2 separate regions of the Homo sapiens genome follow, and region 1 is linked to region 2. The links are contacts of gene promoters, found by promoter capture Hi-C in blood cells and fetal thymus (Javierre and others, 2016). All regions are on one chromosome and are shown on one strand. Each heading gives the region's core, a stretch centred on a gene start or on the middle of the fragment in contact. The rest is flanking DNA. Distances are from core to core; before and after follow the strand shown. Region 1 holds the start of MEGF10 (multiple EGF like domains 10). Region 2 holds the start of MARCHF3 (membrane associated ring-CH-type finger 3).

Region 1 (4,958 bases), core at 2,408-4,907, 260 kb after region 2:
CTCAATTAATAAAGGGAGTTTAATGAAACTTACAACTAACATCCTACTTAATGGTACAAGACAGATTGCTTTGGTTTATGATGAGCAACAAGGATGGGATACTAAATTTTAGCATTTGTATTCAATGTTGTACTGGGCATCCTATCCAGTGAAATAAGGCAAGACAAATAAATAAAAGAAGCAGAGCATGTAGAAAATCCTAAGCAAACTGAAAAAGAAAAACTACTAGAACGAATAAGTAAATTTAGCCATGTTGCAAAATGTGAGGGTACTGCACAAAATTCCACTGTATTTCTCCATACTAGCAATGAACAATTGGAAACAAGAACTCAAAAATAATTCCATTTATGAAATATTAAAAATAAAATACTTAGGGATTCATTTTTTAAATTGTGTGTAATACTGCCATGTTCAAAGCTACAAAATATTGCTGAGAAACATTAAAGAATACCTAAATTAATGGAGAGATAAATGTTCATAGGTTAGAGGAATCGATATTTTTATGTCAGTTCTCCTTAAATTGATCAATGGATTCAAGGCACTCTCAATTAGAAAAGTGAATTTTTAAAACATTGACAAGCAAATTCTGAAATTTACATGGAAGATGAAAACCAAATAAAAACAAAAACAAAAGCTGAAGAGTTGAACAAATTTTGAAAAAAAATAAAAGCACAGTTGGAAGACTTATTACATCTAAGTTGGAGTCCTATTATAAAGTTATAGCAATCTGAACAGTATGGTTTTGGCATAGGAATAGAAATATAGATCAAATGAAAGGAATAATGAGTGAATCCTGAAATAGACTCACTCATCTATGGCCAATTGATTTTCAATAAAGGTATCCAGTTACTCAATGGGAAAAAAGATAATCTTCTCAACAAATGGTGCCAAAACAACTGGATATCCATGTAGACAATAATGAACCTCAGCCCTTACTTCATACCATACACAAAGGTTAACATCAAATAGATTGTAGACCTAAATATAACAGCTAAAACTATAAACTTCTATAAGAAGCCATAGAAAATCTTCATGACCTTGGGGTAAGCAAAGATTACTTATGTAAAACCTAAAAGTACAACACACACACACAAAAACACGCTTGATAAACTGGACTTTATCAAAATTAAAAACTGCTGTTTGAAAGACACTATTAAGAAATTGAAAGACAAGAAACAGACTGGGAGTGTATATTGGTTATATACATATCTAACAAATGCCTGGTATATAAAGAACTCCTACAACTCAATAATAAGAATCCAAAGACTTGATTAAAAATTGGGCAATAAATTCAGACACTTTATCAAAGAACAGGTGGCATGAGAGCACATGAAAAGCTGGTAAACATCTTTTATGGTCACCATCATTAGTCAGTAAGGAAACGCAAATTAAAACCACGATGTGATACCACTATATACTTACTAGAATGGCAAAAATAAGAAGACAGAAACTACCCAGTGTTGATGAGGATGTGAAGCAATTATCATATCTTGCTGGTGAGAATGTAAAATGTTTTCCACTTTGGAAAGCAGTTCATCTTTCTATATAGTTAAACACACAGTTACTGTAATAATAATTTTACTCCTGTAAGATAAGAAAAATAATAATGTATGTCCACAAAAGGACTTGTTAAAGATTGTTCCTAGCAGCTTTATTCATAATAACCCCATATTGAAAACATCCCCAATGTCCATCATTTGGTAAACTGGCAAACAAATTGTGGTATATCCATACAATGGAATACTACTCAGCAATAAAAAGGAACAAACTTCAGATACAGGCACAACATTAATGAGTTTCAAAAACATTGTGTGGAGTGAAGGAAGTCAGACACAAAGGAATATGTAAGTGATTCCATTCATATGAAATGTTAGAAAAGACAAATCTAATCTGTAGTTACAGAAAACAGCTAAGCGGGCCAAATATGAGGTGGGATAGAAGTTGACTTTAAAGGGGTGCAAGACAACCCTCTGAGGTGATGGAATTGTTCATTATCTTGATTGAAGCAGTGGTTACATGGGTGTGTACATTATTCAAAACTCATGAAGCTGTATAATTAATATGAGTGTAATATATGGAATGTAACTTATCCCCCAATAAAGTTGATTAAAAAATTAAAAGGAAAGTGGGGCAACCAAGTTTCATAAAGCAAAATATCTTTGGGTAATAAGTGGCATGAACTAACAGCCAATTTCCTTAGAAAACAGCCATATGGATTAATCACCTCTAGAATTATTTGTGCCTGTGCTGCCCAGATCAAAGTTCCAACTCCTGGCAGAGAGGGCCTGAGGGGCTTAGCTGAGGTCAGTTGCTCTCTTCTGGACAGGGAAAAGCTGGACCATCCTGACTGACCTTCCACCCAGACTGCTGTCCTTGTGGCAGGGATGGTATCTCAAAGAAAAATGGAGGTACTGTTACCAGAGAAGGGGCAATGATGACTGCTAAACAAACAAATAAACAAACACCAAAACAGTCTTCCCCTGTGTATTTCCAGGGAGAGTAAAGAGGATGGTGAGGGGCTTCAAACATATCTATGTTCATTCATTCCATTCATTTATTCACTCAAACATAATATGGAGTCTGTACTATTTTCCAGGAGCGTTATTGAGTAGGGACTCGAACGCTCTTGAAGTCTCTCTAAAAAGAAAGAGTTCTTATTAATGGGAGGAAGAGAAGCCTGGTAGGAGATGGTTACCTGGAGTGGTTATGGGGCTTAAACCTGTTTTTGTTTTTTTGTGGGGAGAGGGGGATAGAATTCAACGACACAAGAAAGAACTTTGCAGCAGTCAAATTTGTATCTTTTGGGGTCCTGTAAAAGCTGGAAAACTCTTTAGTCTGGAAGAGGAAGATGGACAGTCAGAGAAGCAGATTCCAGAATTCATGTCCTGTCTAACCCACAAATGGAAAAGCCCGTTCATGGTTTTAACATTCCATCACTGGGCCTCCCGGGGCCTCCTCGGCGAGTCGGCAGAGGGAGCCATTCCCCAATAAATTGCCGCGCGAGGCCTCCGAGGACCTGGGGGGATTTTCCTGCGCGTCCGGGGAGTTCTCTCTCCGCCCCTCCATGGTAAAGCAGACTATCCCACCCTCCACCCTCTGCCTTCACCTCCCCGCCCCACCTTTCCATGTACTTTGCTGCCACATCACATTCTCTGGCACGGCTTAATCACCATCCTTTCTGGGTCCCACCTTTGCGCTTTCTCCCCTGACACCACTGAGGACCCGCCGTCCACTCCAGTTGGCCGCTCGGGCGCCGGCCACCGTCCCACAAATCCTTACAGAGGGTCTAGAACACCTCCCAGGGACTCTGCCGAGGGACTTGCACCCAACGTGGGTTGGGAATCAGGCGGGCACCCACTCTGACACCCCTTCGGTCACCCCCTGCGGTGACCCCAACATTTGCTAACTTCGCGACCAGGCCTTTGGCGGGGTCACCCACCAGGCGGTGGAAGCCGCTCAGGCAGGGGCGACTCACGATCGAGGTGCAGCAGTCAGGCCGGGAAGATCCTGCATGTTGCGCTAGGGACTGCGCGCGGCGCCAAGCGACAACCCCCCAGCGGCCACTGCCCCGGCAGCAGCAGCTGCAGCAGCGGCAACTGCTCGAATCCCGGCCCCGGCTCGGGTTACCCGCCCCCACCCCCTCCAGCATCTCGGGCCAGACAGAGAAAACCTTGTTCAAGTTTGCAGCAAGTACTTTCCCGGTGCGCAAAACTGGGCGACTGGGAACGCGTTGAGACGTTCCTCTTTCCCGCTTCTCCACCTTTACGCCTGAAAGAAGACTCCCAAAGATTGCTTTCTTCTGGGACGCTGCTTGGACGCTAACCGCGTTGATTGGAACAGATTTTGTGTCTTGGCTGGCTTTGGGTGAAGACCGGGGAGAAAAGGTTGCGCTGCGATTCTCAAGATCTCTGGACCTGGGTAAGAGTTGGGCAAACTCAACTCCGGCGGCTCCTGGACCTTGGCCGGACGCCGGAAGGCTTCTCATGGGCGGGGGTCACATTTTCCTTAGCCAGGGTACCGGGGTGCGGCGTGAGGTGGGGCGAGATGGGCTCAGTCTGCGTTGTTCATGCGCTTCTTAAGGGTTTATTGTTGTTTGCATTTGGTTTTGTTACATGGGATTGTGTAGGAAAATCCTGGAGTATTTTTGATGGAGAGACATCCTCATTACGCATTTTATTTTGCATAATTCCTGCCCTTGTATTGCCTTACCTTGTGTTTGTTTCATTTTGCCGGGCGATATAGCTGGATGTAGGGAGATTTGTGGGGAATCGGACTGAGCTTGAAAGGCAGTTTCAGCTGGGCCCTTTCTTCTAGGTCAGTTGAACTTCCTTTCTGGGATCTTCACTGTTTTCTAAACTTCTCTTTCTCCCGTCCTTGGTATTCAGATTGTGCAGATAACGCTCTAGGCTGGCGGGATGCTCCCCTTTCCTGAGTTCTCAGCGATCAGTAGGGGTGTGAGGTCGCAGTCTTAGACCAAAGGGGCCTTGTCAGTATGCTTGGCTCCTTAAGGAGTGCTGGGAGGGACGGTTTTTCAAGTGATAGTTACTTAAGAAAGATAAATCCGGTGTTGATCTTTTTCTTTTAAATTCCTTGTTAGAGGACTTTTACGCCTGGTTTAAGGAAGTGTTTTGGCCTTAATTTTCTTTCTGGAAGTATTTTTCTTAGTGACACCACTGAGCAAATGAATGATGGCAATATCTTTGCTGCTTCTTTAGAAAATATCCTCACGCAAGGACCCACATTATTTAGGAGAAAGTCAAAGTTGGAGATCTTATTAGCCAAAATTAGCCATTATTATTGTTCTTAGGCTGTGATAACCATGCTGTGCCAAGGCAGAAGAGAATGACATTTCTTCTTGTTCTTCTTGCCTTACTCCTTTATATCCTGGGTCTCACTTTGTGTATAGGGTTCCCAAATAAAAATGCTTCATTCCTTATGGACAGAAATACTGGGGCCAA
Region 2 (5,121 bases), core at 721-3,220:
GATTCAGTTTTAATGCATTATTTTAACAAGCAAAAGCAAACAGTTTCTGATATACATGCCATACTGCAAAGCTGTAAACCCGTGTTGCATGGTGATGTGACAAGCACCACATTTCTGGAGGGATTTTTTTTTCTCTCCTACAAGCTCCCCCTCCCCAAGCCGTGGCTATAATTATTTCACAAAATGCAGTTTGCCATTTCTAGAGACAAACACTTCCTTCTCCCTCACCAAAACTTCAAGTTCAGGCCAAATATTGAATGAAAATAGAACTTGAGAGGCAGGCTTTGTTTGTAGCATGTTGTTTCTGCTAAGAGTTGCCCCCTACCCAGGCTCCACCCCAGTGGTCGGACTGAAGTGTACATGTTATGTTTTAACAGATGGGCCGGCTGGCGGCTGCTGGGCTGTAAAACAGGAACGCGGATTCTGCACTGAGTGGTATTGAACTGAACGCTCGTAAAGTTCATGGACATACTCTGACCCAGACAGACCAGGCAGATGCAGACATGCTTACGCATACACACTCACTAACACCCCACAGCTCAGAGGATCCATCTCTGTGACCCAAGGGAAGTTCAAGGCTGAATTTCCCCTTCATATATTTACCTCATTCACCTTTTAATTTTATATATACACACACTCACACATATACACGTATGTATGTGTGTATATGCGCATCTACATCTTCATATACACATACAGAACTATATATCTCAACATTTTCATGTATTTTCAAAGGTCTAAACATCCCCAAATTCTGGACCTGTTTCTGTCTAGTATTTTCAAAAGCTCTTATTCATGTCAAATAAGAATTGTAAGAAAATATCGTATTGAATTCTGTTTATTCCGCACATAATATAAACTACATGCATGTAGTTGGTCTCAGAAAAACAAGCTGCTTTTACCCCCTTACCATTAAGGGGGGAAAACAATCTAACCCAGACCGAGTCACAAACGGAGTGTCAGGTTTAACCTTGAGTTCTCTGCTGTCAATTCCTGACTCAACTTCATCACTTAAACACGCAGGTGCTCAAACAAACACCAACCGACCAGGCTGGCAATCCCTTTCGCAGCCTCTAGGATTCTCCAAGGCACTGGGCACCAGAACCGACAGCAGCTCCCGCCTGGTCCTAACGAAGTCCTTCGGACACCCCTTGCGGGTGGATGTGGAGGTCCGAGCACCTCAGGAGGGTCATGGATTCAAGTGCTAATAGAAAGCAATTACTTTAGAAAGTTCAAAGCCCAGCAGTGCTCTCAATTCCTCTCAGTAGCTGCAGAGCACTGAAGCCCCCGCTACAGAACCCGGCTGGTACTCCAGTTCTCTGGCGCTGAGACCCACCTTGAGCCCGATGAGCGCTCGCTCAGCCTTGAGATCCAGACGCGGACGCCGGGTCTTACCGTACCGCACAGCGCGGGTAATTTTTCAGGAACCGCGGTCCGCACGCCGCGGGCGCGGAGGCCGCCCCAGCGCTCCATGTCGTTGCCGCAGAGGGGCAGGGGACGCGTCCCGGCCCCACCTACCCATGTCAATTACGCCAAGTTGGTGCGGACTGGAACCGCGTCCCGGGCGGAGTTGGGATGCTTTGACAAGAAGAAGTTCGGGAGTGGGGATATTGGCACGGAGTAAATCCCGCCCAGCCCTGACCTCCCCACAGCGGTCACGCTCGGACGAACGGACCGCCGAGCGCCAGGACGCGTCCCGTCCCCTCTCGCCGCCGCCGAACCGCGCCGAGAGGAGCCGCTAGCCCGGCGCGCGGCCACTCACCGTCCTCGCCGAGTCCCGATAGCAAACCGACGTCCCTGCTGCGGTTCTAAGTGCCAAGTTGCCCCCAGTCGGTGGCTGCTCACGGCCCAGTGGACCAGGGCACATTGGTTCCGGCGGGCACCTCAGGGGGAGTGCGGCAAGCCTGGCGGCCGCCGCGGCCACACAGTCGCCCACAGCGCGCTGACAATTCACGGACCTGCTCAACGAGTGAGGCGGAAAGCAGGGCTAAGCCGACCAGGCTCTGGAGGGGAGGCGGGGCTGCCGCTAGGGGCGGAGCCAGCCCCGGGGCGTCATCAGCCCATGACTGGCGGAGCCGACAGCCAGTCGTGGTGGCGCTGGGACCGCCCCGTAACCGCCGTCCAGTCGCCTGCGGCCGAGGGCAGGCTGGCGGGACGCGCCGGCGGCGGGGAAGTTGGTTATTGCGAAGTGCCGTGGCTGCCGGCGGGCGCTGCGGGACTCTCTGCAATGGGACCCGAGCAGCTCTAGAGGGAGGCGGCGGCCCCAGAAGGCCGTTGGCTGAGAGAGACCAGGAGCCCTCGGAGCCGCCGCGCGCATAGCGCTGTGGAGCAAGAAGCCAACCGCAGCGCGGGTCGACACGCCAGTATCTGGCACCGGCAGGAGGCGCGGAACTTAGCTGCCCCATCGGAACCCCGCCCGGAGGAAGCTGAGGGCCGAGAAAGGATGAATTCCGGACCGGGTCGCCCAGCCACAAGTGGAAACCTGGGCTCTCTGGAAAACGTTCTGATCTCGATCTGGCTATCTCTGAAACAAAACTCCAGCCCCGCAAACCTCCCAAAGTTCAGTACACGTCCCCGTCCTCACCCCTGCCCTCCGGGCCACCTGCAGCGGGGGACTTACCGGCGCCTCGGGTCTCCTCCTCCCGACCCAGCGCGTCGCGGACACAGCTGGCGGCCAACAGGAGGCTTGGGCGCTCGACGGCGCCGGAACCTGTGAGACCGTCGCTCTGGGCGGGCTGCCGTGCGGGGTGGCATCCTCTGCGGTGACTTCTGCTGTCTTTTGGGTCCGCCAGGATTCCAAAATCCCAGGCGGGTCGCTAGAATTATCCATCTTCGTGGACAGGAAGCCCCAGAACGAACCACATCTGTCCCACTCTGCTTCCGCCCTCCTTCCCCTTCGCAAGCTCCTGGCTGGGATGGAGACATCGGACGAGCTCGGAGATCCCGACCTCTCAGGGGTCACTCGCAGCCGAACAGCCTGGAATATGGCCTTGTGGGCCCTTCCCGCCCAACCCCCTAGGACCCCACTGCTCATCTTGTCAACCAGTTTCTGAGCCCCTACCCTGGCTGCAGCACGTGCTCGCACAGGCGCGCTGAGCTACTAACATAGAATCAAAAGCAGGGAGTTGGGTGTTCTTGCTTTCCCGCTGAAACCTAGAATGTAAACAAGCCCTAGACCGTCAGCTGTGGGTGGGTAGGGGCCTCTCCCTGCCTAGAACTGCTCTTGCCATGGGTAGGCACCTAACCCGTATTAGTAAGAATGAAGGAATGCATGCTCATAACAAGAAAGGGGTCAACCTGCTGCCCTGATACTCACCTTCACCACTTACGTCTTGCTTCCAGCGCAAGCCCACTTCAGACCATTGCCTCATTCAGGTCCCAGAAGTCCTAAGGGTTTTAGTCTCTCAGTATGGGCAATTATTCACATGTAAGGGAGCTGCAAGGTGTTATTTCAATGCCATCTGGCCTCTATAAGGTCTTGCATCATAGCTGACCTCTCATGAGAAGGTTCTGATGAGGTCACCAGGGAGAAGGAATGTAAAGGGCTGGTGGCTGAAAAGGAGTGAAATGGCCCCTCTTAGGTGAGCTCTGGCCTGGTTTGAGTTTCAATTCTGTCTCCTCAGCTCCATTTCTCAATGGGAAAAGGTCCATAGGAAGGTTGTCAGAAGGGCAGGAGACTAGGGCAGGGATAGCCCTTTGCAGACCCTGAAAAATTGCTCAGTAATGCAAACATTGTCCATATTTAAGTTCTTTCTTTTCTTTTCTTTTTTTTTTGAGGCAGAGTCTCACTCTGTCGCCCAGGCTGGAGTGCTATGGCTTGGCTCACTGCAAGCTCCGCCTCCTGGGTTCACGCCATTCTCCTGCCTCAGCCTCCCAAGTAGCTGGGACTACAGGCGCCCGCCACTACGCCCGGCTAATTTTTCGTATTTTCAGTAGAGACGGGGTTTCACCGTGTTAATCAGGATGGTCTCGATCTCCTGACCTTGTGATCCGCCCGCCTCGGCCTCCCAAAGTGCTGGGATTAGAGGCGTGAGCCACTGCGCCCAGCCTTAAGTTCTTTATTTTCTATCTTGTGGACCAAAGGACTGCTACAGGCAAGGAAGACCATCTGACTCAATTCCAGAGGTTCCTTAGCATGCTGCTGACTGGCCTAGGAGAATGGCCTTTGCCCATAAAGTATTAGATGTAGACCACATGAATGGAATATTCACCAGGTTTCTGCCCAGGTCTGGATTGGGCAAGGACATGGCTGGAGGTGCCTTACAGGAGAGAAGGCCAAAGAGAGAGAAGACTTGACTCCCAACCTGATTCCAGCAGAACTCCACTTTGATGTGTTTTTAAAATTGTGCTCTTCTGTTTGCTTTCACGGAGGCTGCCATGAAACGTCATCTTTGACTAGAATTATCAGGAAATGCTCATGGAAGAAATATACTTCCTTGGATTTTTTTTCCTACCACACTTCAGGATATAACTAGAGAAAACATTTGCCAACAGTGCTTATCATATTAGTACCCTGTGAAGGTTTTCATAGATGCTGATTATTATTTTTAAAATCATTTCGGGAATAGGAGCCAAACACTAGGTCATGACTGTACTTACTTTAGTATTTACATTAAGTGATGAAAAATGGAAATAAAGGAAATGTCCTGTCATGAAACAAGTTAGAATTAGGTGACTTTCATGTCCTGATTTCCAAGGTTTTCTGTTTGTTTCAGACAGACAAGATCATCCATGGGTTCTTGGACAAGTAATAGGTCTCATTTTCCCTTGTAGACCAGAAGACATGGAAAAGACAGCATATTCGGACTATATTCATATTTCCATACCATCTTTTGTTGTAATTGATTTTCAACAAGAGCCCCTAACAATCTCTTGAGTTTGGGCCATCCCCATATTCTACAAGGGAAAATGAGATCTCTTACTACTCCAATAACCCATGCTTACACTATCTGTATGGAACAAACAGAGAACCATCAAAATCTGAACGCAGAAGTCACTTATTTAGTCCCAATCTATTTTGTGAAAGAAAATTTCTTTTACTCAAAGAGATGAAGAAATTTACGGAATGGCTTGGGAATGAGAAGATTCAGGTGGGACCATGGAAGCAAAGCTTGTTCTTTT

The links. The method cuts DNA at HindIII sites, captures the fragments that hold promoters and counts their contacts. A CHiCAGO score of 5 or more calls a contact.
Region 1: the fragment with the promoter of MEGF10 here is called in contact with the fragment with the promoter of MARCHF3 in region 2 in 15 of 17 cell types (M1 macrophages, M2 macrophages, endothelial precursors and 12 more); the score reaches 24.6 in M1 macrophages.

Annotation. Positions count from the first base shown.
Region 1 is chr5:127,287,139-127,292,096 of GRCh38, forward strand. MEGF10 (multiple EGF like domains 10) reads left to right here and starts at 3,658. Exons shown (of 25, transcript NM_001256545.2): 1 at 3,658-3,918. It overlaps LOC105379199, which reads right to left and starts at 3,598. Exons shown (of 4, transcript XR_007058921.1): 1 at 3,440-3,598. The HindIII fragment of the contact is 5,574 bases long and covers 1-4,958 here.
Region 2 is chr5:127,028,588-127,033,708 of GRCh38, forward strand. MARCHF3 (membrane associated ring-CH-type finger 3) reads right to left here and starts at 1,971. Exons shown (of 5, transcript NM_178450.5): 1 at 1,763-1,971. It overlaps LOC105379163 (a long non-coding RNA gene), which reads left to right and starts at 2,756. Exons shown (of 2, transcript XR_007058920.1): 1 at 2,756-5,121. RefSeq lists a silencer at 1,933-2,312 and an enhancer at 2,309-2,853. The HindIII fragment of the contact is 7,560 bases long and covers 1-5,108 here.